Regions from separate parts of the Homo sapiens genome. Here regions 1, 2 and 4 are each linked to region 3. The links are contacts of gene promoters, found by promoter capture Hi-C in blood cells and fetal thymus (Javierre and others, 2016). All regions are on one chromosome and are shown on one strand. The core of a region is centred on a gene start or on the middle of the fragment in contact, and the rest is flanking DNA. Distances in the headings are between cores, read along the strand shown.

Evidence for each region. The method cuts DNA at HindIII sites, captures the fragments that hold promoters and counts their contacts. A CHiCAGO score of 5 or more calls a contact.
Region 1: a fragment that was not itself captured here is called in contact with the fragment with the promoter of GAD1 in region 3 in 2 of 17 cell types (total B cells and naive B cells); the score reaches 8.8 in total B cells.
Region 2: a contact is called between a fragment that was not itself captured here and the fragment with the promoter of GAD1 in region 3, in 2 of 17 cell types (total B cells and naive B cells). The highest score is 11.2, in total B cells.
Region 4: a contact is called between a fragment that was not itself captured here and the fragment with the promoter of GAD1 in region 3, in 2 of 17 cell types (naive B cells and total B cells). The highest score is 34.4, in naive B cells.

What each region holds. Positions count from the first base shown.
Region 1 is chr2:172,067,477-172,073,615 of GRCh38, forward strand. METAP1D (methionyl aminopeptidase type 1D, mitochondrial) reads left to right here. Exons shown (of 10, transcript NM_199227.3): 6 at 3,431-3,594. Among named protein-coding and RNA genes, the nearest start is that of DLX1, 15 kb to the right of the region's middle. RefSeq lists an enhancer at 4,315-6,045. The HindIII fragment of the contact is 1,811 bases long and covers 2,751-4,561 here.
Region 2 is chr2:172,108,413-172,115,178 of GRCh38, forward strand. It overlaps DLX2-DT (DLX2 divergent transcript), which reads left to right. Exons shown (of 5, transcript NR_126376.1): 4 at 490-570; 5 at 1,378-1,570. Among named protein-coding and RNA genes, the nearest start is that of DLX2-DT, 8.8 kb to the left of the region's middle. The HindIII fragment of the contact is 7,472 bases long and covers 1-6,766 here.
Region 3 is chr2:170,815,574-170,822,391 of GRCh38, forward strand. It overlaps GAD1 (glutamate decarboxylase 1), which reads left to right and starts at 1,314. Exons shown (of 17, transcript NM_000817.3): 1 at 1,314-1,475; 2 at 2,956-3,100; 3 at 6,514-6,576. The coding sequence starts at 3,019. GAD1-AS1 (GAD1 antisense RNA 1) reads right to left here and starts at 3,078. Exons shown (of 4, transcript NR_197761.1): 1 at 2,813-3,078; 2 at 2,145-2,342; 3 at 1,281-1,459; 4 at 1-912. RefSeq lists a silencer at 1,129-1,208 and enhancers at 1,296-1,465, 2,705-3,228, 3,229-3,751. The HindIII fragment of the contact is 11,655 bases long and covers 1-3,798 here.
Region 4 is chr2:172,088,891-172,095,593 of GRCh38, forward strand. It overlaps DLX1 (distal-less homeobox 1), which reads left to right. Exons shown (of 3, transcript NM_178120.5): 3 at 1-784. Among named protein-coding and RNA genes, the nearest start is that of DLX1, 6.7 kb to the left of the region's middle. RefSeq lists an enhancer at 2,261-3,434. The HindIII fragment of the contact is 2,704 bases long and covers 536-3,239 here.

The DNA of each region.
Region 1 (6,139 bases), core at 2,406-4,905, 1.3 Mb after region 3:
TGCACCACATACATCCTGTTGGTATCTTTCCAACTCAGAATCATGTGGAAGGAGGTATTTTATGAAGTATACCTAAAACAGAGTTCTTTTCATGAGACACTTTTATTTTGGATTGTACCTGATTTTACGGTTTTACATCTATTTTCTCATCTAGTCACCCTATCATGAAATGTTACCATTTTAATGTTTTGAATGAAATCAACTACTCTTCCCTACTGTTTCCAGTGTGTCCAAAGAAAATACTCTATTCCTTTTCTAAGTTTCCTGAATACTTAATAAACAGTTTTGTATTTAACATTCAAATTACTTCACAATTGCAAAACTTATAAAGCAAAGTGAAATATTTCCAAGTGTCTAGAAATGTGAAGGAATCTAGGAAACATATAGGTCCATATCTTAACAAATTATATTTCTTATAAAATATTTTATTAAGTGAAGGACTCCATTATCAGATCCTATGTTTCTATCAGAAAATACTCATTGCATCTTAGAATTATTGACGTCTAGTATACATCACAAGAAATTAGATTTCCTTCCCCCCTTTAAAACTGAAAAATGTTTTTCTTAAAGACAATGCGATGTCCATAGTAGTTGCTCAATAAATATTTGTTAAATGAAGTACAAGGGCCAGGCGCAGTGGCTCATGCCTGAAATCCCAGCACTTTGGGAGGCCAAGGCAGGCGGATCACCTGAGGTCAGGAGTTCAAGACCAGCCTGGCCAACATGGTGAAATCCCATCTCTACTAAAAATACTAAAAATATAAAAATTAGCCCTGTGTGGGGGCAGGAGCCTCTAATCCCAGCTACTTAGGAGGCTGAGGCAGGGAGAATTGCTTGAACCTGAGAGGCAGAGGTTGCAGTGAGCTGAGATCGCGCCCCTGCACTCCAGCCTGGGTGACAGAGCGAGACTCTGTCTCAAAAAATAAATAAATAAATAAATGAAGTACAAGTACTAGTTTATGGGTATAAATAGAAATTGTAGATGACTGCCACAGACTTTCAAAAGTATTGTATTTCTGTATATAGTGAATCTTTTAAGTAGTCTTTTTTTTTTTCAGACGGAGTTTCCCTCTGTTGCCCAGGCTGGAGCACAATGGCAGGATCTCAGCTCACTGCAAACTCCGCCTTAAGGGTTCAAGTGATTCTCCTGCCTCAGCCTCCCCAGTAACTGAGACTACAGGCACACGCCACCACACCCAGCTAATTTTTGTATTTTAAGTAGAGGCTGGGTTTACCATGTTGGCCAGACTGGTCTTGAACTCCTGACCTCAAGTGATCCGCCCACCTCCGCCTCCCAAAGTGCTGGAATTATGGGTGTGAGCCACTGCACCAGTCTCAAATAGTCATTTTGATATTCCTTCCTTCCTTCCTTCCTTCCTTCGTTCCTCCCTTCCTCCCTCCCTTCCTCCCTTCCTTTCTTTTTCTTTTTCTTTGTTTCCTTTTCTTTTTTTACTTTTTCAGATATAGGGTCTTGCTCTGTCACTCAGGATGCAGTGCAGTGGTGCCATCATGGCTTACTGTAAGCTTGAACTCCTGGGCTCAAGTGATCCTTCTACCGTAGCCTCCCAAGTAGCTAGAACTACAGGCGTGTGCCACCACACCTGGTTAATTTTTTAATTTTGTAGAGATGGGGTTTCACTATGTTTCCCAAGCTGGTCTTAAACTCCTGGTCTCACGCAATCCTCTCATCCCAGCCTCCCAAAGGATTGCAGGCGTGAGCTACTGCACCCAGCCTCAAGTAATCATTTTCAAAGCTAGGAAAAAGTAATATGAAAAGATGAATAAAGATTTTTTAAAATAGTACATTTTTACTTAAAAAGCAGTTATATAAACATTCATTTATACATTTTCTTGACTACGCCTATATTAGCAAATTTTATATTCTTGTATTTTGAATGAAATCGTATTTTGTATTTTGAAATAGTATTCTTGTATTTTGAATGAAATATAAGAATATAAAAATTTGAATTTTTGAACGAAATCAGCATAGTCTTCCCTACTGTTTCCAATGTGTCCAAAGAGAATACTCTATTCCTTTTCTAAGTTTCCTGAAGACTTTTAATAGTTTCATTATTAACATTCAAACTATTTCAAAATTGTAAAACCTATGAAGCAAAGTGAAATACTGCCAAGTGTATAAAATAAAAACTCATACTTTCCTGGATTGCAAAGGACTGTAAGTGGGAGTAAATGTATAAAACACTATTCTGTTGCAAGGTAATTAAGATAATTTGATATAGTAGAGAAAACACTCGATTAGAAGCCAATAATCCATCATATTAACCTGAATCTACCTCTATATTCTGCCACCAACCTTAAACAAGTTACTTATCTGTGCCTCAGTTTCCTGAATTATAAACTGAAGATCTAATAAAGACCTTTCTTGCTTCCTTCACAGAATATGAGAGCATTTTTTAAGAAATGCAGAGTAGTATACAGATTTAAGACATTAATTCAGTATCACAACAGACTGAAAGCTCATATAAACATCTTTTTTATAACAGTTTCTACATTCTACCTTATGAGCAAGAGAAATGTGAAAAATAATTAGATAGGACAAATTTATGCAAAGTAGCAAATTCCATGCTACATCAAAGGATCAGTATCCAAACAGTTGCCTCTGCCTTTTATATTTACTATAGTGCTTGGTTATCAATGATTTATAATGAATCTGGTATCTTTCAAGATCCTACTTGGCTTCTGAATCACTGAAGACTGATAAAATTATACTTTCTGTAATTGTGCTTTTAAGCTTGTTTTATTATATTCTAATTCTTTAGATATCCATATATAGTGCTTTCTGTTAACGTTCGGCTGTCTGGAACATTTGATTAAGATTTCACTTCTAGACATAGGATTTTTCTGTAACACATTTCATTCCTATATGGAACCACTTCAATTCTTAGAACTGAATTCTCCTATTTGTTTGTTAGAATACAGACATGTCTATCTTACTTCTTCTTGTCATTATATATCACTTCAAATGTAGAACTGGTAAATACAAAATCAAGTAAGTCTTCATGACATTGAAGAAACTTTTCACTATGTTAAATACTTTTTGGTTCTCTAAACCTGTTGTGGTAATTGTAGATCAAGGTCTTTGGCTACTAATTTTTGCTTATATAATTTTGTCTTCTCAGAAATAAAGTGAGGAATCAAAATATTACAGTAGTATTGTTCATCATAATGCTGAAATAACCATACTAGTTAACATAGTTGTTTTTAAATTTTGCAATATCATTGCATGGCTTCATCTTTTAAATTTCTGCAAGGTTTCAATATATCTATTTCTTCTTTTTTTGATAGGCAAATGAATAATTCTGGAAGGGTAAAACATGAGTCTACTAAATACATAAATGAATACAATGTATACTTTAGGAAAGTAGATTTTTAAACAAGGACATATTTTTAAATTTCTGCTTATGTTTAGGTCTATTACAATGGCTACCATGGAGACACCTCTGAAACATTTTTGGTGGGCAATGTGGACGAATGTGGTAAAAAGTTAGTGGAGGTTGCCAGGAGGTGTAGAGATGAAGCAATTGCAGCTTGCAGAGCAGGGGCTCCCTTCTCTGTAATTGGAAACACAATCAGGTAAGCCTTACATTGACAAGTAAAGGGAGGGTTGGCAAATGGTACAAAGGTTATTGGTGGCTTGGTATAAAGTTGATGACATGTTTTATGATTCAGAACCATCATTTCAGTCTGATATCAGTATGTGAACTGCCAGGCTGCAATATTGTTCCCTGAGTTGAAAAAAAAAAAAGATTTTATAAAAATGAATTATACCAGGGTCAGCAAAGAAACTTATAGAAGGAGCAAGCAATATTTACATGGCTGCTTTTGTTTTAGCTTGACATACTGGTCTATAGTTTCCCTTTATTCAAAATCACACCAAATATGGAAGGGAGTACCTAAGAAGGGGATGAGCATCTCAACCCTGGGGTTTTTAATAAGACAGGAGAAAAACTAAATTTTATAAAGGAATGAAGTGAAATGTATTTCTGTGATATGAAGATAATAAAGTGTTAGTTCAAGCAAGCCTTACCTTTCAAATTGGTAGATTAACAAATAGCCTGAAACGGTGATCTTCTGTTCTTTTTTTGTCTGGTTCATTTTTCCTGTAAACCGTTGTTTATTTTTCACAGAGTATTCTATCCTTACTTTTTGAATGTATGTGTATGTGTGTTTTCTGAATTTAAGACTTTTCTTTATAATCTGTTACCTACTTTTAGGTCTTTTTTCCCCCATAACTGTTTTGAAGTAGACATGCCGAATATATGTTTTCATTTTAAAGTAATGCATTCTGTTAAAGATGATCACATCAGTGCCCTTTAAAGTACTGTTCTCATTAATATGAACCATTGAATACTTCCCATTTGTCTAAAGGATGGAAGGCTTAGTCACCTTGAAAAGATGCTGCCTTTTTTTCTTCGTAAGCCTTCAAATACTTTAAGAAAAAAGCCAGTAAAATATCAGTTAAATGTATTTATGGCTTTAAAAATATTGTAACAGTGTCTGAATCAAACTTTAGTAAAATCTCTTTGGGTTATATCTGAGAAGCTTTTATTGAAGACTTTGAACAAAATTGTGTTTTTGACAGTTTTAAATTATAGGCTAACTAGCCTGGGAAAAAAGGATAGTGTCTCTCTGTTCTTTCATAGGAAATGTTGAATCAGACCCCTACTGGGAAAAGAAATTTAATGCATATCTCACTATCTTACTGTCCATGAATATAATAGAAATGAATTCAAAATGCAGTTTTATTTTTGCAAATGGGATGAGTCGATAGATGCACCTCATATTTTTGAACACCTAGGGTTCAACAAATTTACTGGTGGTGCTCTTGCATTTTAACAAAATTTATTCTTCAGTAGAAGGGGGCAGAGAACACTAGATTCTTATTCAAGCATTCTATCGAGCTCTGCATTCATGGCTGTGTCTAAAGGGCATGTCAGCCTTTGATTCTCTCTGAGAGGTAATTATCCTTTTCCTGTCACGGAACAACAAATGATAGCTAACTACAGAGGCACATTTGCAGTAGTCACATTCATCAACTGCAGAAAAAAAAATTCAATTTAATTGTGCAACACAGCTGCACATGGGCTTTTGAGCATTTCTGTTGTTCTCCCTGTCTCGCTATTCCTCCCTCCAGATCTATTTTTTAAACTTTTTTTCTGGTTATTTTTTCCCCTTTTTGTCTCTTCTTCCATTTTTACTCTCTGTACTTTCTTGTTAAAGTAATTTTCCTTTGTGGCTCTCATTCTTTTTCCCCCATTGAAGGCTATGAATGTAGAAAATTATCACAATTACTCATATAATTGAGCCTCTTTGTAGCAAGTGCAACTCCAGTAGCCTTTCTCCATCATGAAAATGGTTTCATTATAGGGTTTTTCATATTCTCTGACACCATCTACACAGAGGAACAGGCGTGCAGATGAGATGTGCTAGGAACAGGCTAGATCAGTAAGGTCACAGTAGGAATAATTAGCTCTGCTATGGAAAGAGCATCTAGGCCTTTTACTGCTACATAAATGTACTGTCCATGGCTTTTAGTCACAAAAAAAACTTACTAACAAATGGAGCTCCCGCCTACTACTTTGAAAAAAAGATTTGTATCAACACTACAATTTTCCATCATTAAGACTAATAACACAGAGCCTAGTATACATCAAGGGGAATAAAAAGAAAAATCTCACATTCAAGTGGCGGCTGGGTGCTGACCTTTGTTCCCTTTTTTTGTGTACGACTTAACTCTTTACAAAAAAGAGCCACACGCCACACCAACATGCAGGTGAACTCCAGCTAGTACTAGCAAAGCATAGCATTCAGTTGGAAAATTTGATAAATCTCCATGCAGGATAATGCATTTCATTACATATTCACTACATTAATTCTAGCTACATTAAAAAAAAAAGAAGAAGAAGAAGAAGAGTAGAATTGAAAGTGACATTGGATTTTAGCTATCTGGATACAAAGGTCAGTTTTCACAGAGTATGAATTTGCATGTACAAGCTTTTTTGAAAACCAGATCAGTCAGTCCCAACAACTGCACTTAAAAAAACTATGTGGAAAATAACAGACAATGAACTTTTTACTTGTACCCTAATACATTTCATTATTTAGATGGTTTATGTCT
Region 2 (6,766 bases), core at 2,447-4,946, 1.3 Mb after region 3:
CCCAAGTTATCTTTGCTCCCTGCTGGGGTGTAAGTAAACCCCAGGGGCTTGAACCGAAATCATCGGTTACTCGACGCTTCCAGCCGTGGCCTTTCCGCGGCGCTGGGCTTCTGGTGCTATCAGACCCAATTTCGCCTTTTGCCTTCCAGATCTAACAGACTCTAGTCAGGTCCATTTCACTTTATTGTCTGTTCAATGGTTAAAGCAAAGAGAGTGAGAGCTGGGGCCCTTGACCCAGGAGGGCGCCCTGTATGGGGCGAGGGGTCGCCCAGGCTCTGAGGCACACTGATCCGGTGGCCTAACTGTGGATCCCAGCGCACAGGCCCCATAGGCAGGCCACAGGTGGGTGAGCTTCCAAGGGCGAGAGAAACCCATTCCCCTTAGATGGTGAAAAGCTGCCACATTTTAGTGTCCAGGTCCTGAGAGCTGCAAATGCTGATGGAGTAAATTACTCCCTCTTCCTTTCCCCACCGCCCCTGCCCCCTCCAGGAACAAAAGCTCAGACCGCTGAGATGTTCACTCTGCACTTTCAGCAGCACTCACATTGAGATATGAGAAGACTGCAACAAGGTTTGTTCTTACGAAAGAAAACAATCTCAGAGAACACATGGACACAAGGAGGGGAACGGCACACACTGGGGCCTGTCAGGGGGCGGGGGTGGGGAGCAGGGTAGGGAAAAACAGCTAATGTATGCTGGGCTTAACACCTAGGTGATAGGTTGATAGGTGCAGCAAACCACCTTGGCACACCTTTACCTATGTAACAAACTTGCGCATCCTGCACATGTACCCCGGAACTTAAAATTTTTAAAAAAAGTAAAAAAAAAAAAATTTCCGAGGTTTCCCGCCCCTGAACTGAGGACCATTTGTGCCCGGCGTTCCGGGGGGACCGGGAGGGGGCTGTGCTTGGGGGGCGGCGGGGCGGGGGACTGGAAGCGAGGGGGTAAGTGTAGCAGGGAGGGGAACGTCGCCGGGGGGTCTTGGACCTCGGGTCTTCCGCGTGTCCGGTGTTGATTGGCTCCAGTTGTCAGGTTGAAACCACAACTCCTCCCCTAAGAGCTGCAGAGGTGAGCCCACGACGTGCCGGCCCTAGGTGTTCTCATCGTTGGGTTGTCAGTGCAGCATGCTTCTGGAACTTTCAGAGCCTCACAGGCCTTAGACCCTTTTCACTTTAGTGTCTATTCAGCGGTTAAAGCAAAACACACACACACACACACACACACACAGACACACACACACACACACCACCGCCACCACCATCACCACAACCAACAAACGGGAGAACTAGGAAGGAAAACTCTGGAACTTAGAAACTACCCTTGGACACAAAATTCCCTTCTCTTTCACAGAGTCTTTCTTTCCACTCTCTCATTTTAGAACAAAAGGGTTGTGCCACCTCCTTTGGATGTGAAGAGGATGTGCTGACACGTGTGCTCGGGAGCCAGACTTTGTGGCCTTGGGGAAAGGACTGAATATTTCTGTGCTTCGTCGTTTGCATCTGTGGAATGCAGGTGATACTGAGCTCTTCCTTGTGGGATTATTGCCTGGAAATACACCATTATAGGTTCATCGCCGCCAGGTTTACCGCGACACTCGGCGTTCTCGGGCCTCAGCGGAATGGGTTTTAAACCGCGGAGGGAGGCCCAGGCGGAGAGGGTGTAGGCCCACTTTTCTCACTCGTGTCTAAGCAGGCCTTGTCCTGGCGGCAGCCAAGGTGAAGGCAGACGCTGTTTCCGGGATCCAGTGGACCAGGCCAGGCCAGGGGATTTGGGCGTGGGCCTCCGAGGCGGCAGTGGGTGGTCCAGGGGCATTGTGAAGCCGTCAGGCACTGTGGATGGGGAAGTGCAGGGCCCGCCTGCAGCACTGAAGTTTGGAAAGGCCAAATACTGCTCCTAACCCGTGCGGCAAGGACTGCCCCATTCAGTAAGCGGGGCAAAGTCCCGCCTTGACAAGCCTCTCTGTAGTTTCCCTGTGTGCTACACCTGGGCTGCTTCTGCTCGCTTCTTTGAAAATGGAGAGGGGAGCAGAGGGAAGAACCTTGCAGGTTATTCACAGGGAACTGACCCTAGGCAGTCATGTCAGATTGTTTGCATGTACTTGTGCACGCGTTTTCAAATGCATAAAACCCTGTGCATGTTTCAAATGTGTAAACACGTAAGCATTTTTATTTGTATTTCTATTTCTTTTATTTATTTATTTATTTATTTATTTATTTATTTTCTTTTGAGACGGAGTTTCCCTCTTGTTGCCCAGGCTGGAGTGCAGTGGTGCATCTTGGCTCACTGCGACCTCTGCCTTCCAGGTTCAAGTGATTCCCCTGCCTCAGCCTCCCGAGTAGCTGGAATTGCAGGCGCGTGCCACCATGCCCAGCTAATTTTTGTAGTTTTAGTAGAGATAGGGTTTCACCACGTTGGCCAGGCTGGTCTCCAACTCCTGACCTCAAGTGATCCGCCCGCCTCGGCCTCCCAAAGTGCTGGGATTATAGGTGTGAGCCACTGCGACTGGCTAGCATTTTTATTTTTTAGAAATCTTGGCCGGGCGCGGTGGCTCACGCCTGTAATCCCAGCACTTTGGGAGGCCGAGGCGGGCGGATCACGAGGTCAGGAGATCGAGACCATCCTGGCTAACACGGTGAAACCCCGTCTCTACTAAAAATACAAAAAATTAGCCGGGCGAGGTGGCGGGCGCCTGTAGTCCCAGCTACTCGGGAGGCTGAGGCAGGAGAATGGCGTGAACCCCAGGGGGCGGAGCCTGCAGTGAGCCGAGATTGCGCCACTGCACTCCAGCCTGGGCGACAGCGAGACTCCGTCTCAAAAAAAAAAAAAAAAGAAATCTTTTCTTTCTATGTCAGTCGTTACAGAGCAATCATTTTCTTCTTAAGGTGAATGTGTGAGGAAGGTATCATCATTTATTTGACTATCTTCTTTGCCTTGTCATCTAGATGATTTCCGATATTTACAAACAACACATGAGTGAATGTCTTCTGGAGAGCTTTGCCCACATGTTCAATTATATTTGTAAACTAGAATCCTAGTAACTGAATTGTATGTCAACATTTTAATAGCTACCACTAAGCTCCCCTTAAAAAACAAGCAATTTAAGCTCTATACTCATTTCTGAGCACTCTCACCAAGAATATTAGGAATCTTCAGTGTTTTTTGAATATGATAGGCTTAAAATAGTGCCATATTTTAACTTGCAAAGGCTTTACATTAGTAGAGTGTGTGTCTTTTTTATTTTATTTTATTTTAGAGAGGGATGCTCTGCTATATTTTGTCCAGGCTGATCTTGAACTCCTGGGCTCAAGTGATCCTCCTGCCTCAGCCTCCAGAGTAGTTGGGACTACAGGCATGTGCCATCGCATGCTTGGCTTGTGTTTTTATATAGGCATTTTATTTTCTTCTGTGAATTGCCTATTTTTGTTCTCTGCCCATTTTTCTGTTTTTAAAAAATTGATTTACAGGAAATTATTACATATTTTGGAGATTAACTCATTATTGTGTTTATAGTCAATATTAATTCCAAGTTAATTGCTTCTCTTTTACTTTTGTTTATTCTCTTTTCTAGTTCAGAGATTTTAAGTTTTGTATGGTCAAATATGTGACTCTTTTTTTTTTATGGCTTCTGGGCCTTCAGGTCATGATTATAGATGCCAATACTTTTTTTTTTTTTTGAGACGGAGTCTCGCTCTGTCACCCAGGCTGGAGTGCAGTGGCGCGATCTCGGTTCACTGCAACCTCCGCCTCCTGGGTTCATGCCATTCTCCTGCCTCAGCCTCCCAAGTAGCTGGGACTACACGTGCCCGCCATCACACCCGGCTAATTTTTTGTATTTTTAGTAGAGACAGGGTTTTACCATGTTAGCCAGGATGGTCTCAATCTCCTGACCTCGTGATCTGCCCGCCTCGGCCTCCCAAAGTGCTGGGATTACAGGCGTGAGCCACCGCGCCCGGCCTATAGATGCCAATACTTTTAGATGTTAATACTTTTAGAGTTAATATATACAGTGGTTAAAAGTATGGGCTCTGGGCTTAAATCCTAACTTGGCTACTTGCTAACTGTGTAAATTAGGGAAAGTTATTTAACTTTTCTGTGCCTCTGTTTAATGTTTAATTGAACAAAACTTCACTTAGACTACTGAAGGATAGTTGTGGAATGGACCAAGTGTTGTCTCTCAAATCTGATTTTTGGGGAATGCAGCTAAACTACTCCCTAGCCCCCTTTGCACTTATGTGTAACCATGTCATTCAATCCAAGAGAATGGAACATAAGTGGAAGCCATGTGTGCCTCTCCCAGGACAGGACCTTTTAGGCAGAGTTGAGACTCCTCTCTGCTCTCTTTTTCCTTCCGCTGTCTGGAACCAGCTTCAACTATGAAGATGACATGGCCCTAGAGTCTCCTAGAGGCCCTAGGGGACTCACCGCCTAGGGGAATCTTCATCACTTGTTTGGAAGGTTATCTGACCAAGAAATAAACTTACATTTTAAGATACTGACTTTTGGGATTATATATATACACACACACATATATATACACACATATATATATGTACACACACATATATATATCTATACACAAACATATATATATGGCAGCTTATCTACTATAGCTAATACCATGACCTTGAAGTTAGGATGCAATGACTTTGTTAGGAAAAAATTACAGGAAAAAGTCCAGAACATCCTTTATCTGTGAAAACCAGATGAATGGGAAGCCAAGCACAGACCTGAAACCATTTGATTCCTAGGTGCATTCAGTCCATGAATAGAAAGAGGTTAGCATAGCTGGTTGTTATCCTTAGGAACATAAGTCTTTAATGATCATTAGTGGGGTTCTTTCACTTCTAAGCCCAAATCATATGCGTTTCCTTTTAAAGGTGATGGATTGCAGAAATTTTGTCACTGTGCCACATGGGACCCTCCCCTCCATGTCAGTGTCACTCTTGCCTTGGGCACATGCTTATTATGCTTAGGAGTTGTCATGGGGTGATAAGCCAACTTACTACTTTAGTCTTTTTTGGACGACAGTGCCTAGGATAATGGAATGAACAAGGCAAAGGCAGCACAAAGAGAAGAGGTGCTAATAATGAAATAACTTCAAATAGGAAAAAGAAAATTAAAAAAAAAAGGAAACTTCCCACTAAAAGGGCCCAAATGGCTTTCATTTGAGGAAAGTACGCAAACTTAAGTGAATGAACTTTGGGATGTCATTTTGGGCCATTTCAAGACATTGTTTTTGCCTATTTCCCAGTCCTCAGTTGTGTACTCCTTGCTGGTGTTACTACATAGCTAAGTTCTGAATTGATGATATGCTTTGGTTTCATTTAGAACTGAGCACAATTTATCACCACATTCCAGAAAAGATTGAATACTAAGGAGCCACACCAAGTCTTGTGTAAGACAGTGATGACACCCAGTGGTCATTTAGGGTCTTCATCTACATCGACCCAATTCATAGTAAAGCTAACAAATTGCACATATTAGTATACGAAAAGTGCTGTGTGTGTGACAGCCTGTGGGGGAAGGGGCAGCTAGACTTTACAGCTCTGACTGTTGTATCCTTGTAGTTTCATCTTGGGCATTTCTTTTTTTCTTTTTTCCTTTTTTTTTCTTTTTTTGAGACAGAGTCTTGCTCTGTCGCCCAGGCTGGAGTGCAGTGGCGTGATCTCAGCTCATTGCAAACTCCATCTCCCAGGTTCAAGTGATTCTCCTACCTCAGCCTCCCCAGTAGAGTAGCTGGGACTATAGTCCTGCACCACCACACCTGGCTAAATTTTTTATTTTTAGTACAGATGGGGTTTCGCCATGTTGGCCAGGCTGGCCTTGAACTCCTGATCTCAAGTGATCTGCCCACCTTGGCTTCCCAAAGTGCTCGGATTACAGGCGTGAGCCACCGCACCTGGCCTTGGACATTTCTTTTTTCTTTTCTTTCTTTTTTTTTTGTTTTTTTGAGATGGGGTCTTGCTCTGTTGCCCAGGCTAGAGTGCGGTGGTGTGATTTTGGATGACTGACTGCAACCTCTGCCTCCCAGTTTCAAGCAATTCTCCTGCCTCAGCCCCCTGAGTAGCTGGGATTACAGGAGAGCACCACCATGCCTGGCTAGTTTTTGTATTTTTAGTAGAGACAGGGTTTCTCCGTGTTGGCCAGGCTGGTCTAGAACTCCTGACCTCAGGTGATCCTCCCACTTCAGCCTCCCAAAGTGCTGGGAATACAGGCGTGAGCCACCGTGCCAGGCTGGGCATTTCTTACTATGCAATTACCTTCCCTGGTTGAACTCAGTAAAGGATTTCACTCTTATCTCTATTATACTTTTGATACTCTGTCATAATCCAAAGAATAGCTGCTGGAATCCTGAGATGTTTAAACAAGGTTTTACTTAAGTCTTGGGATAACAAAAGGGAAATAAACATCAAAAGTAACCTGGACCCAGATGGCCGAATACTGTAAACTCTGTTGGTATGAACCATGTATTTATTGTATGAAATAACCCCATCACATAGTGAGTGACTGAAGTGAAAAAATGACATATAAAAGACTTAAAGGGTAAATGAGAGTTAGCTAGGTAAATAGTTGAGAGAAAGGCATTATAGAAAGAAGAAATAGTATGTGCAAAGTTCTGAGTCTGAAAGGGACATTTGAAAACCTGGAAGAAGGTGAGCTGGGCCAGACCACAGTGGATGAGGAGAGTATGTACGGTGGGGCTGGCAAGGTAGGCAGGAAATATATCGTGTAGGACCTAATAGATTTTTGGCCCAAGAACAATGGAA
Region 3 (6,818 bases), core at 64-2,563:
ACCAGTGAGGCCCCAGACGTGCGCATAAATAACCCCTGCGTGCTGCACCACCTGGGGAGAGGGGGAGGACCACGGTAAATACCAGTAAAGGAATCACTGCCTACACGGTGTCACCCAGACACGCACAGACATCAACATTTTTGCCCTAAAGAAAAAAACTGGGGGAGAAGAAAGGGGAGAACTTAAACTAGTGACAGGGCGGTGAGGGAAGGCATGAAGAGGCAAGCCGGCGCGTAACCGTCTGGCCAGCAGCTCCAGGTGTGGGCTCCGCTCGGGCGCTGGCGGAGAGACCCGGGAGCGCAGGGCCTCTCCGTCTCTGGGCTCTTGGCGCCCTCTGGTGGGAATTTCTCTTTCAACGCATTTTTACGGCGAGGGGCTTCTCCCAACGCAGCGGTTCTTTTAACTACGCCTAAATATTGCAAAGGGAGAATCCTTAAAGCGCGTGAAATCGAAGGGGGAGCGGGCCAGGGCAAGGGGGGCTGGTCCGCCCCTTCCGGGCACCTCTGTGCTCGGGTGCCCCATGCGCGTGCAGCGGCGCTCGTGCGTGTCATCAACCTTCAAACGTGATTAATCAGGAGGCCTTCTTTTCCCATCACCAAGGGGGCCAAAGCGAGGAGCGAGCGCATAGCAAAAGGGACGCGGGGTCCTTTTCTCTGCCGGTGGCACTGGGTAGCTGTGGCCAGGTGTGGTACTTTGATGGGGCCCAGGGCTGGATGAGGAAACTGTAATTCCTCCATGGTCTAAGAGGTCTCCCCTCATTTCTGCCTCCTTTGCGGTTACAACAATCCCAGCTCCGTAGAGAGCCAACGAGGACACGACCCAAAGCGCGCTTTCGCTCAAGGAAGCGTCGCAGGGTCACAGATCTGGGGGAACCCCGGGGAAAAGCACTGAGGCAAAACCGCCGCTCGTCTCCTACAATATATGGGAGGGGGAGGGGAAATGGGAGAGGGGAAAGGAGGGGAGGGAAGAAGAAACGCTCAGAAAGGCAGAATTCTTCGTAGGAATTATCTTTTCCCTCCTCTCACCCGACAGCCTGCCTATTTCCAAAGGAAAAAAAAAAAGCGTGTTGAGTACGTTCTGGATTACTCATAAGACCTTTTTTTTTTCCTTCCGGGCGCAAAACCGTGAGCTGGATTTATAATCGCCCTATAAAGCTCCAGAGGCGGTCAGGCACCTGCAGAGGAGCCCCGCCGCTCCGCCGACTAGCTGCCCCCGCGAGCAACGGCCTCGTGATTTCCCCGCCGATCCGGTCCCCGCCTCCCCACTCTGCCCCCGCCTACCCCGGAGCCGTGCAGCCGCCTCTCCGAATCTCTCTCTTCTCCTGGCGCTCGCGTGCGAGAGGGAACTAGCGAGAACGAGGAAGCAGCTGGAGGTGACGCCGGGCAGATTACGCCTGTCAGGGCCGAGCCGAGCGGATCGCTGGGCGCTGTGCAGAGGAAAGGCGGGAGTGCCCGGCTCGCTGTCGCAGAGCCGAGGTGGGTAAGCTAGCGACCACCTGGACTTCCCAGCGCCCAACCGTGGCTTTTCAGCCAGGTCCTCTCCTCCCGCGGCTTCTCAACCAACCCCATCCCAGCGCCGGCCACCCAACCTCCCGAAATGAGTGCTTCCTGCCCGCCCTAGTCCCTGCTCTCCACGGGTGCGCTGCGCAGGGACCCCCCCCCCCCCGCCTCCCTCGTCACTCTTCTTATCCCTGCCCTCCGGATTCACGCCCCGGGGAAGCACGGAGGCTGAGGCTCTAGTTGAAGTGGGGCAAGAGCGATTTTCCCTTGAGCTTCCATGCTGCGAGCGCCTGTCCCTCCAAAGGGCGCCTGGGCAGCAGCAGCCGAAGGCGCTACTAGGAACGGTAACCTGTTACTTTTCCAGGGGCCGTAGTCGACCCGCTGCCCGAGTTGCTGTGCGACTGCGCGCGCGGGGCTAGGAGTGAGGTCGGAGGGAGGGTGTGGAGGCGATGGCCGGTGGGCCCTTCTCTGTGGGGTCCTCGATCTACCCAGATTAGCCCGCAATCTCTCTGTCCCGGGGCCTTCGGGCGCCATCGCGCCAGCGCCGAGAGTCGAGCAGGGGCGCCGCGCAAGATCTTTGTCCGCCGCCTCCTGCGCGCTGCGCGCAAGTTCGTTTCCCCGGTGACGTTCCCCATGCTTACTTACCCCACCCTCTCTGGATCTGTACCGCGAGAAATCTGGGGTCCTCAGGGGGCTAGGTAGAGGAGAAACGCTGAAACCGGACCGAAACCTCGCCCTAGGCTTAGCGATGGCTAAAAACCGGCTGGGATAAGAGGGAGGCAAGCAACATTCCGACTCGCTGCTTTCTGGCTGTCTGGAGTGCAAGGTGACTGTGGTTCTTCTCTGGCCAAGTCCGAGGGAGAACGTAAAGATATGGGCCTTTTTCCCCCTCTCACCTTGTCTCACCAAAGTCCCTAGTCCCCGGAGCAGTTAGCCTCTTTCTTTCCAGGGAATTAGCCAGACACAACAACGGGAACCAGACACCGAACCAGACATGCCCGCCCCGTGCGCCCTCCCCCCGCTGGCCCACACGCCGGCTGCTGAGTGCCCAATGGGGCTTGTAGCGGCTCGGCTGGAAAATCGCTCACTGAGCGCTCCCCTGTGCTCCTAGCCTAGTCCCCCACACCCTTGCGTCTTGTACTGGCCTTGGACCCCCACCCCGACCCCGACCCCGCCTCGTCTCGGCGCTTCACTCCAGGTCGCGCCGATGCACCGCCAGACTCGAGAGCGGCCCAGGGCTACGCTCCCTGCGCCCCAGTACCGGAGCTAGCGCGCACGTCTCCTCCGCTGCCCCCACCCCTGCGCACCCCTACCAGGCAGGCTCGCTGCCTTTCCTCCCTCTTGTCTCTCCAGAGCCGGATCTTCAAGGGGAGCCTCCGTGCCCCCGGCTGCTCAGTCCCTCCGGTGTGCAGGACCCCGGAAGTCCTCCCCGCACAGCTCTCGCTTCTCTTTGCAGCCTGTTTCTGCGCCGGACCAGTCGAGGACTCTGGACAGTAGAGGCCCCGGGACGACCGAGCTGATGGCGTCTTCGACCCCATCTTCGTCCGCAACCTCCTCGAACGCGGGAGCGGACCCCAATACCACTAACCTGCGCCCCACAAGTAGGTCCCGCCCCAATTTTCTATCAAATGAACTGCAGGGAAGATGGGGGCGCTGGGACGTCGGGAGGCTGAGCTGGCGGAAAGGGAAGGGGGAGCGCGGAGATAATGGAGGCTGGGAAATAAATGGGGCTCTGACCCCGTCCCTGCCAGAGGTCATTCGGCTGTCAGGGACGCTAGGTGACTCCCAGGGCACCGGAAAGCGAGGACCACGCAAGGTCCGAGCAGCGGCGATCGTTGAGGGCTTCGCGGAGGAGGAGGGGCGCGCAGCCAGGGTGTTGTTTTTATTCTGTTGTGTGTGGTTTCTTTGCTCCGTGGGACGACAGGGGTCAGCGCAGGGGGCGGAATGAAGAGCTAGGAGCCCCAGCAGGAATAAGAGTTTTCAGTCCCCGGCTTTCGTTGAGCCAAGATCTGACCTCCTCCTTTCCCCCTGGGCTGTGTTCAAAGTCTATAATCAGCGGAAATTTCGACGTTAATTGCAGCTTTTAGAAAACTCAAGGTCCCTAATTGCTCCAAATTTGCATCAAGCTATTGACGAGTTAGGGAGAAGTCAGGGGCGGGAAAGGTGCATAAAACTGAGACTGAGCCTTGACATTTCATACAATTAATTACATCTCAGAGAAATAAATAAATAAATAAATAAATAGGGGAGCGGGCGGCATCCTGAGTGGCAAGAGATGGGGAACTGGGAGGGGGCAAGAAGCTTTATCATAGAGAGGAGAGAGCACCTCTCTCCTTATCCCAGGCAAGAGATCTGTCAGGAGGTGACATGTCCCGAAAAGAGAGAAAGAAAAGAGACACCAGATAAAAGAGGGGGGAGGATTTATGCTTCCCTGTCTTAAGTGCGACAGGCTCCTCAACCCATTTCCAGAATCTATCTTTAATTTTATTTCCTACCTCTGTAAAGGCTTGAGATGAGAAAATTGTTTTTCTTTTTCCTTGTTGGAGTGAAGAAGTGTCTCCTGACCCCACCCCCCTAAAAAAACTTATCAGCTTCAGACTGTAAGTGTTCCCACTCCCCCATTTATTTATTTCTGAGATGTAATTAATTGTATGAATTTCCAGAATTTGTATACAGAAAGGGCTTAAGAAGGATAGTGTGGTTACAGGGAGTGCTTATTGATGCGCTTTTATGGCACTTTATATTTGAGAAAATAAGTATCCTCATCAATGAAGTGGGGATTATTACCGGAAAGCCCCTTTAGACGCTGGCATTGGCTCCCGGGCAGGAGGTCTCGTGTTAAGTCCTCAGGTCTCATTCCAATTTCCTTTGCAGCTCCCTCTTCCCGCCACCCAGGAGGGATACAATTACCCACACAACAAAGAGGGCCTCGGGAGAGTCGCCAGCCCTGGTAGCATATGAACCAGGCACCGGCGTTGGAGCTGGCCAGGGCAGGGCGGGAGGAACGCGAGGCCTGCGCGCCTTTGTGTGGTGCTTTCGCCTTGATGGATTTCTTTTCTGACGCTTTCCACATTTCCCGCTCCCTTTTGCCGCCTGGGGGTGGGGGTGGGGGGTTAGCGGGCAGTTGTGTTAATTTGCCCTCCACTCCCGGCGCCCTTACGGAATTCCCGGTGGCCGCCAGTCGCCGGCGCAAATGCCAAGTCACCGGTAGGAGACACAACAGAGGCGATGACCTGAATCCGCACGTGGCCTGGTTCGCCTGGAAGCTGCCAAAGCGAAGGCAAGAGAGCCCGGGACCCTGCTGTAAAACAGCAAGCAGCACGTGTCCCAGGCACACTGTTGCGGGCCCTTAGCCTAGCTACGCATCCGCACCCCAGGCTTCAAAGGCGCGCTGGGCGCTCTATCCACTCTCACCCTCCCTTGCAGACAATACCTTTGCCCGCCCAGCTGGCTCCACTTCTTTGCCCCTTTAGAGTCTCCTGGGAGGTGGCGTTAGTGCAGGCAACCTAAGGCACTCTCTTGTTCCAGAAACCCTTGGGTGGGGCTTGGAGCCCTCCTTGTCCCCAACCACTAGGTCTTCCCGACCCTTGCTACATCAAAGGGGCTCTCTCGCTTGCTCTCCCCGTCTCCCTTTCCCTTTCTTTCATTGCAACCCCCAATTTTGAAAGGCAGTGCAATGTGTCTGAACTCCAACTTCCCTGTTGATTGACCTTGGAAAACTCATGTAACCTCTCTGAGCCTCGATGTTTTTTCTTTGTCAAATGACTCTTAGATCAACACTCCTGCCAGTTTCATAGGACTGTTACGAGAATTAGATGAGATGATGTTGAAAGTGAAAGCACTTTATCAGGTCCAAATAGCTCTTTATCCGCCAGGTATTATTAGGGTTTCGCTTTTGCACTGATTTCCTGTCTGTCACTGGAACTCCATCTGTGACATGTCTTACCGACGTCAGGCTGTTTCTTCTCCCCGCTGGGGCTCTGTTGTGCCTCAGGTTTAATGGATGTCACTCTCCTTATCGCCTCCAACACCTGTGCGAAGCTGGAGGCACCAGTCAGGGTAGGGTAAGCGAGTGCTTGGAGAGGTTTGCTTTGAGAGATTGGAAGGGGATTTCGTGCTGGGCTCACCACACCACTCCGCTTGGGGGCTTAGTGGGGATGGGGCTGCTTCCCACGCTTCTTGCTGGAAGTTGAACCCCGAAGGCAGCAGGTAGACCTTGAGGGGTTTGAGAACAGCCTGGAAAAGAAGGAAAATCCAGCAGCACCTCCACCCTCAGTTGTGACTCAGAGGAAAGGTGCTTGATTCCATTTACCTTTGCCTGCTCCAGACCCAAGATGTCAGAGGGAAGGGTTAATGAGGGGCAGGTTGGGAAGAGGGGCCAGGGATGAGGACCTGAGGCGCACTATTGTCTTCCCCACTCCCCGGTCTGACTGAAGAGCAGCCATGCGAGCCCGATCATCTAGTCAAATACTATTTTTCACCCAATTAATTCTTGAACTCTTCCACGACCCCATTTCATGCCAGTTTATTTTAAGCTGCCACTAGGCTGGAGACCCGCCAAGAAATTATGAGACGTTTCGGTCCCAGATGCCTGTGTTCCCTTTCTGGGCTGCTGTGGTCGCCCTTTGAGTCTGCGGGGCCCGGCCAGTGGGTGTTGGGCAGCTCGATCGGAGCCTGGCCCTTTGCGTGTGGGTCAGCCTTCACCCAACTCCGACCCCACCTCCGGAGCTGCCGGGCGGGGGTCGCTTACGGGCCCGGAGGGGCGCCGGGTGCCCCGCCTCTCAGAGACACCGTTCCATATTTGAAGCCAGGAGCAGGAAGGGAGTATGATGGGGGCTTAGAGTATATGCCTGTCGGCTCACAGATTTGGCTCCTAGCTCCTTTCAGGAAGTAGCTTTTAATGAAGAGCTCTGGCAAAGTCCTCATCCTCCCCCAAGAAAACCATTGTCCTCCACCCATTTCCCCGCGGTCGGAACCTCCCTAACCGAACCTCTCTCCCTCTCTCTCGTCCTAGCGTACGATACCTGGTGCGGCGTGGCCCATGGATGCACCAGAAAACTGGGGCTCAAGATCTGCGGTAAGTGACAGGACCCACTGGGGCCCGGCTGGGTGGCGCGGCGGGCGGACCTTTGGGGCTTGGGAGACTGGGACGCAAGCGGAGGGGGATCCGGGCTCATGGGTCTGATTTTCTAATGTAATTACAGCCAGGACAGCCAGCGACCACGCTCCCCTACAGGCCCTGACCCTCCTCTGCCCGCCCCAGACCTGGTCCCCAGGGGTCTTTTCCTCTGGAGTCCCCAATCCCCAACACCCAGTGGA
Region 4 (6,703 bases), core at 638-3,137, 1.3 Mb after region 3:
GTTCTGCTGGGCGCAAGGAACGCACTGTTCAAACGCACTGTTTACTTTAAGCGCACGGGGAGAAACGAATAAGGAGGACGTGGTGATTTTTAATTTATACAGTAACTTTTGTACTTCTCTGGTATGGAGAGTTTGGAGCCGAATGATTTGCATTTTTTACATGTCCGACATTATTTAATAAATAATTTTTAAAAGAAAAGAACGATAAATGAAGCCAACATGATTTTCTCATTTCGGGAGGAACTCTGTTGCTTCGCCTGGACAAGAAGGAAAATGCTGATTTCCTCCTTGGGTAGAAAGAGGGAGCGAGGGCAAATGGGGAGTAGAGAGAAAACAGGCGAGAACAAGCACTCTAATTCCAGTGGGCTTTAAAATAAGACAAAATCAGCTTTACAACAATCCCTAGAGGCTCGACCACAGAATAATGCCAGTCACCACCCTGAACGCACAATCTCCAGTGCAGGATCTAATGACTGTACATATTATTGTTATTATTATTATTGTTATTATTGTTGTTCTGTAAACATGTTGCACAAGCTTAGCCTTTTTGCGTTCTGTTGTGTGTGGCTGTAAAACCCCATGCTTTGTGAAATGAGAATCTTGACATTTTTCTTGTGAAATTTGGAAAATGTGATCAATTGAAATCAACTGTGTTTTGTGTTCTCTATGTCAAAGTTTAGTTTTATATTGAGAATGTTAACTTATTGCTTTGTATCTTGGGAAAAAAACTTTGTAAATAAGTTATAAAGTTTCTTTGAGACAGTAAAATTATGATTTCTTGAAAGAACTGCTCTCTTGTGCTGTGTGAGGCTGTGCCAGGGGGCCAGGCCAGGTTCCCGCCTCTGGAGACAGTTCATACAGGGTCAGCGACTTATCAACTTATCGGTGATAGAATGGAGACCCTGTACCCCAGAAACACCAGGGTATCGTCAGAGGCCTGTGAGGTGCCCCATTGGGCTTTTTCTTCCTGCCTTGCTCCATTGACCCCCAAGGTGTCTGATTCCTACCTGAATTGGAAGGGTAAGGAGAGAATGCCTGGCGAGGGTTCCCCAGGAAGGGGGCTCAGGAACAGGTGCATCAGGGCAGGGCTGACGCTCAGGAACCAAAAGGATGTTGAAGACCGGCTGAGAGGAGATGAAGTCAGAGTTCAAAGTCAGCCGGCCAGGACGATTTCAGTTTTTCCCACACCCAGCCAGCTCTTGAGAGGCCGGGAGGTTGGGAGGCTGAGAGGCCTGAAAGCAGAGACACTGCTTTGCCTCTAGCCTTCCTCCGGATCAGGCCTCCCTGCTTTTGCATGCCCGGAGGCGCTGGATTCCGTCGCGGAAAAGACGCAGCCAGACGCCAAGCAGGGGCCCGGAAAGACACGTCTGTCAGACTGCCCCTCTATCAATCAGTGCGCTCCAGGGGACAGGGCACAGTCCCAGGCAGCCACCCTGGGAGCTCCACAGTGAGAAAGGCAGGTTCCTGCCTAATGATCCGGGGCCTTTCTCTGCACCTCACAGAAATGGAGGTGCTAAGGAAAGGGTGGCTGACACTTTGGAACCCCAAAATCTGACCAAAGTCAAGCACACCACTCCCACCTCATCCCAGTCCGAAAGTCCCAAGGCCAGGCCCTTATGGGAGCACCTCTAGTGAAGCGCTTGCTCAGATTAGTTTCCTCCAGAGGAACACGGGCTTCAAGGGACTAGAACCAGATTGGTTCCCTTCTCGTGGCCCTGCGTCCCAGCCCAGCCCCAACCCCCACCCCAGATCTCGCAGCCGAGCCGAGGCAGTCCCGGAGAGCTGCGGGCCCAGACAGGCTGCCAAGCGCTGTTCCTACTTCTCCCGCACTCGCCTTCCAGCGCTGCTGCCCGCGGGAGCTGGCCCTCCACCTTTGGGGGGTCTTTTCAGGCGCGCGGTGGGGAGCAGAGCCCGGAAGGCAGTGATCTGTGTTGTGACAAGCACCCATTTTTCAATTGGTGCTGGTGAAAGATCAGATGCGCCAGGCTCTTCCGACGCCCTTTGGGAAGGGGAGGAGGAAGTGGTGGGGCTGCTGGGGGTGGGGGGAGGCGGTGTGATGGAAGCAGGGAAAGTAGTCGGGGGTGGGGGAATGATGCCGGGGACCTCCAAGCCCCTTCCAGGCCTGAGATTGGGACTTCTCCGCAGCACCTAGAAGAACCAGCGCTGATGGGAGAGATCAGACCTCAGAAACCAGGATGTGGGCAGTCAGATGGGCCTCAAAGCTGAGGAAAGAATGAATTTCCCAGCTCCCGCGCGGGGTAGGGGGTCTTCCTAGGTTCAATTTCCCCTAGGAGATGTGACTTTGCTAGTGCGAAGATTTCTGTCCGGCATCTGACTCAGGTCCCCCAGACGGCAGCTAGGGCCCAATGCCTCAAGCTACAGGCAAAATCTGTTTGGTCAAGCGGATTGTAATACTTTGAGATATTAGCTTATACTAATTTAATAATCTCTTGCTAACAGTTCAAATAGAGAAATTATTAGTTTTAGCTCAACGAAAACGGTCTTTAGTTAGGCTTTATTATAATTATAAGCGGTTGTACTTTTTAAAAATGTTAATCTCAATATAGGCCTAATTAATGCTGCCTTGTTACTGACAAGTAGTTCATCAAATATCTGATTCAAAGATTTTCATAATGAGTATATTAATTAAACTATGAATAATCTAAAGGTGGTTATATTTAAACAATACCTCATTATAATGATTAAATACTGATTTCGAATATTATGTCTTAACAATTGTCACTTAGAAAACACAACCTTTCCTTATGTATGAGTCTGTAATGGCAAAATGCAATTTTGGGATTTTTTTCCCTTGTTCAAAAAATGTGAAACTCATTTTAAAACACTTCTGAAATAGGTTACACACAGCTTAATGATTATCAAAATGACTCTTTTCTGCAAAAAAAGACCCCAAAGTGCGCGTACAGCTGCAAACCCAAGAGGGTCAGCATCATTTCACTGTATTCTCTTCTTGATTACAAGCCGGGCCCATCAAACACAACATAATTACAGTAATTTCAGGTTTATTTATTCTAATGCAGTTTCCCCATCTCTCTGGTAATTATGAGCAATTTTTTCGCCCAGGGAATCTTTTTGCATTAACAAAAGAGATAACGCACTGAAAGCCAAATTTGCTGTGCATTGAGAAAAGGAAAAAAAAAAATCAAATAGGTGCGAGCTGCCATCTCTGCAATTCTCTGGTACCGGAGCCGGCAAATTGCTTGCAGGTGTATGGAGCAAGCTTGTCAATGGCCAGGCCTCCAAATTAGCAAATGCACAGCAGCAAAGTAATGAAGACAGACTTAGCAAAATTGCCAAACAACAGATATCCCTTTAATATCTTCTCTCACCCACACTAGCTCTAAAAAGGGGTAGGGGTAGGGAGAGAAGCAACAGTCCCCAGCCCCCTCCTCACTGGTCTTGGCTTTCAGGAGCCTGGAGGGGCTGGGTAGCCTTGTGAGTGGTAATCTAATTGTGGGAGAACTCATATCTTAAATCGAGGCACTATTTAAAAATATAAAACTGGAAACGTTTATAGTTCACAGCTTTTCCTCTCTGATCATTATGTTTTATTTTTATTTCTTTCTTCTGGAAATCTGCACCTGGGCTGGGTTAGATATAATAGCTCTTCAGCCTTCTTGATTCTGTACGAGTTTTTAGAGCCACAAGAAGTTTTAAGATTCCCCCCACCTATATGCACAGAAGTGTGAATTTATTCATAGAGAGTCATCTGATGTAGAAACTAACTGAATCTTTCACCTTGAAGAAATTGTCAATTTCTGTCACCCCAGGAAAGGTAGGTCTGTGCGCTGGATGTGGAACCCGAGATACTAGATCAAGAAAAATTGGGAGCAAAGAAGCAACCCAGGCTTCCTGGCTTTAAATCTTTATCCTGGTATCCATCTCTTCCTTTCTGTATCTTTTATAAACTGATTTCAGAATTACCTGGTTTTTGTCATCCCACCGCCTGGATTAAACACCCTTGAAATTATAGGCTAACGCAAACTTTTCTGCTCTTCATCCCGCATGGCCATAGGAACCTCCATCAAATGCAGTACAGAAGGCGAGGGTCCTTCCCTCCCATGCCTCAAAGAAATCCTCCTCCGGTCCCCAGCTCCACAACAAACCCCTAGCTCCAGCGTAGACAGACAAACGGCTGTAAAAAGTGCCTTCCCCAGGCTCAAGAAACATGTCACCCCCACCCACCGCTTTCCTACCCCCTCCCTCATCCCCCAATCTTCGAGGATTAACACTTCCTGAAACATCAAGTGTTTTTATAAAAAGGAAAAAAATAATCCTGACATCGCTGACAAGAAGTTTTGATGGAAGAATTAGCTGGTGCATACATAATCACTCCCCCACCCTCCTACTCCCGGAGCGGGAGCCACGGCGGCGGGCGCAGCGCAGCCTTCCAACCCTCTGAAAAATGAAACCGGTTTCCACCCTTACCTTCTTCAGTGTCAATTTCAGATAATCTGGACACACACTCTTTGCTACATCAAATCAAAAGGGTCGAAGGTAGCTTTTGGCTGGGAGAATAACGGGAAAGAAAAATCAAAAAAGAAAAAAGGGAAAAAAAGGAAAAATAGAAAAATACAAAACCGACCAAACCAGAGTAAAACAAAACCAGAAAACCAAAAACAATCCCCCAGACCCATCCTCCTATCTTGAGAGTAAAGAGTGGAAAGAGGTCCCCAGGACCAGGCGCCTCAGAGCGCCGCAGGCTTTTTGCAGCGCTGCGCTTGCAGAATAGGACTGAAATTTTCGGCTATATAGCCTCTGTCTTTATAGCTGATGAAAAAAATTGCAGATTATTAGCATAAATGTTTACTCTTCATTACGCTGATGACATTGTGCACTCGAGATCTTGGTAATCTTTGGGAAAATTATGAGTAATTTTTAAAAATTTTAAAGCAGCAGCAGTTACCATGCAATTCAGGCTAATTCTGCGTAGGCTCCGAACGGATATAATTATCGAGGAGTCAAGATGTTATGCTAAAAACTATGCATTGATATTCCCATTTATTATGTACATACAACTTTGACAATGTTGATGCTTGAAATAGCAGGAAATTGTCTTGCGCAAAAATTACAGTCCATATTAGGACATCTGAAATTGCGAAGAATTATATAGTAATTGCAGGCTTTCAGATGGGAGAGCCAGAATGCTCAAACTAGTGCAAATGTGGATAAAATTACAGATCAGAGCAAAAATTAGGGAAAAAGGGGGTCTGGGATTTTTCAGGTTGGCTATAGGATTCCGGAAGTGTCTAATGCCACATGATTGCTGCAGCTTTAGGGGAGACATTCATGCCTCAAATAGAGCATTGGCCAGGGTGGCTTTAATTGAATTTCTTGGGCTTTTTCTTTTAATAGGGGCGAATGAGGAAATTGGCCACCCAAGGCAAATTTTCACTGTCCTCCCGTGAACGTGCCGAGGAGAGAATCCTTTTCCCCGCGTACCTGCTCTCCCCAGTTGAATGCCCGGGAGGCCCCGAGGGGCTCCCCACCCTAAAAGCAGCAACTGAGAAAGTGACTGAACCGGATACCCCCTCCTGCCACCTCCTCCTTTCTTTTTCTTTCCTGTTCCCCCCTCCTCCTTCCTTCGGCCCCATTCCCGGATTCTGGCAAACCCCTCCACAGTGCAGCCGGGCCGGGCCCCGGGATGGGCAGACCGGGCCCAGGGGGCGGGGGGGCGGGATGATGGGGGAGCTGGCTGACTGTGCTGTCGGTGCCAGGCGGGGAGCATCTCGGGAGATGCCCAGGGCAGTTTTGGGAAGGTGGGACGTGGAAGGTAGGAGCGGAGGGTCGGACTGTCCCGCCCCGCGACCGCCTAGGCTCTTCTTTTGTCTCTACCGCCTGGAGATAGCGTCCCCCCACCTCCCAAACATTCACTTCCCACTTGGGCGGCGCTTCTCTCGGGAACCGAGACACCCTGCGACTTTAAGAAGCCGAGGCCAGACCCGCGGAGGGAGGGGGCGGGGCGGGGGCTGCCCCCCGAGCGGGGAGCGCGGTGGCGCCCGGCGGGAGAAGCCGACTGGAGCGCGGCCACCGCTCGGAGCTGCAGTGCCTCAGTCCGGTTCTCCGGCCAGAAGTCCCCATTGTTCCGGGTGCGATGATTTCACCTCCCGGGTGTCCGAGACTCCTGGACCACAATCGGGACGGAGAAGCGGCAGCGTGGGCAGCCTGCCACGTTTGCTCCGTGCGGGCCCCAGTCTGTCCCCCGGGGTCACCCGAGCGTGCTCCAAGTCCAGTCCTTTCGCCCTCGCTTCTCCTGCCCCGAAGTTGTAATCCTCTGCCCAGCACCCCCGACCCGCCTCGTGGGCCGGTTCTGCACCTTCTCCCACTCGGCACCCGACCCTCGGCCCCCATCTCCTAGCCCGGGACCCGACTCGACTGGGGACCCTCCCCAAAAGGGCCTCTTTCGGAGCGCTGCCACGCAGCCCGCAAACTGCCGGGACACTGCAGCTTGTGCGCTCTGGCCCGGGAGGACTAGTGGGGGAGCCGGAGAGGCCGAGGGAAGAAAGGTCTGTCTGGAGGCTGTCTGCGTTCTTGGCGTGGAGGCGCCGAGCTGCTCCTCCAAGACCTGCCTGCACTTTCTTTTCCTGAAACACAGTCTCCCCGCCCCGCCCAGCATCAGGCCGCAGGGCGGAATGTAACATCTTGTAATGCGGCAATCACTGCCAAACCCGTCCCCGCGAGG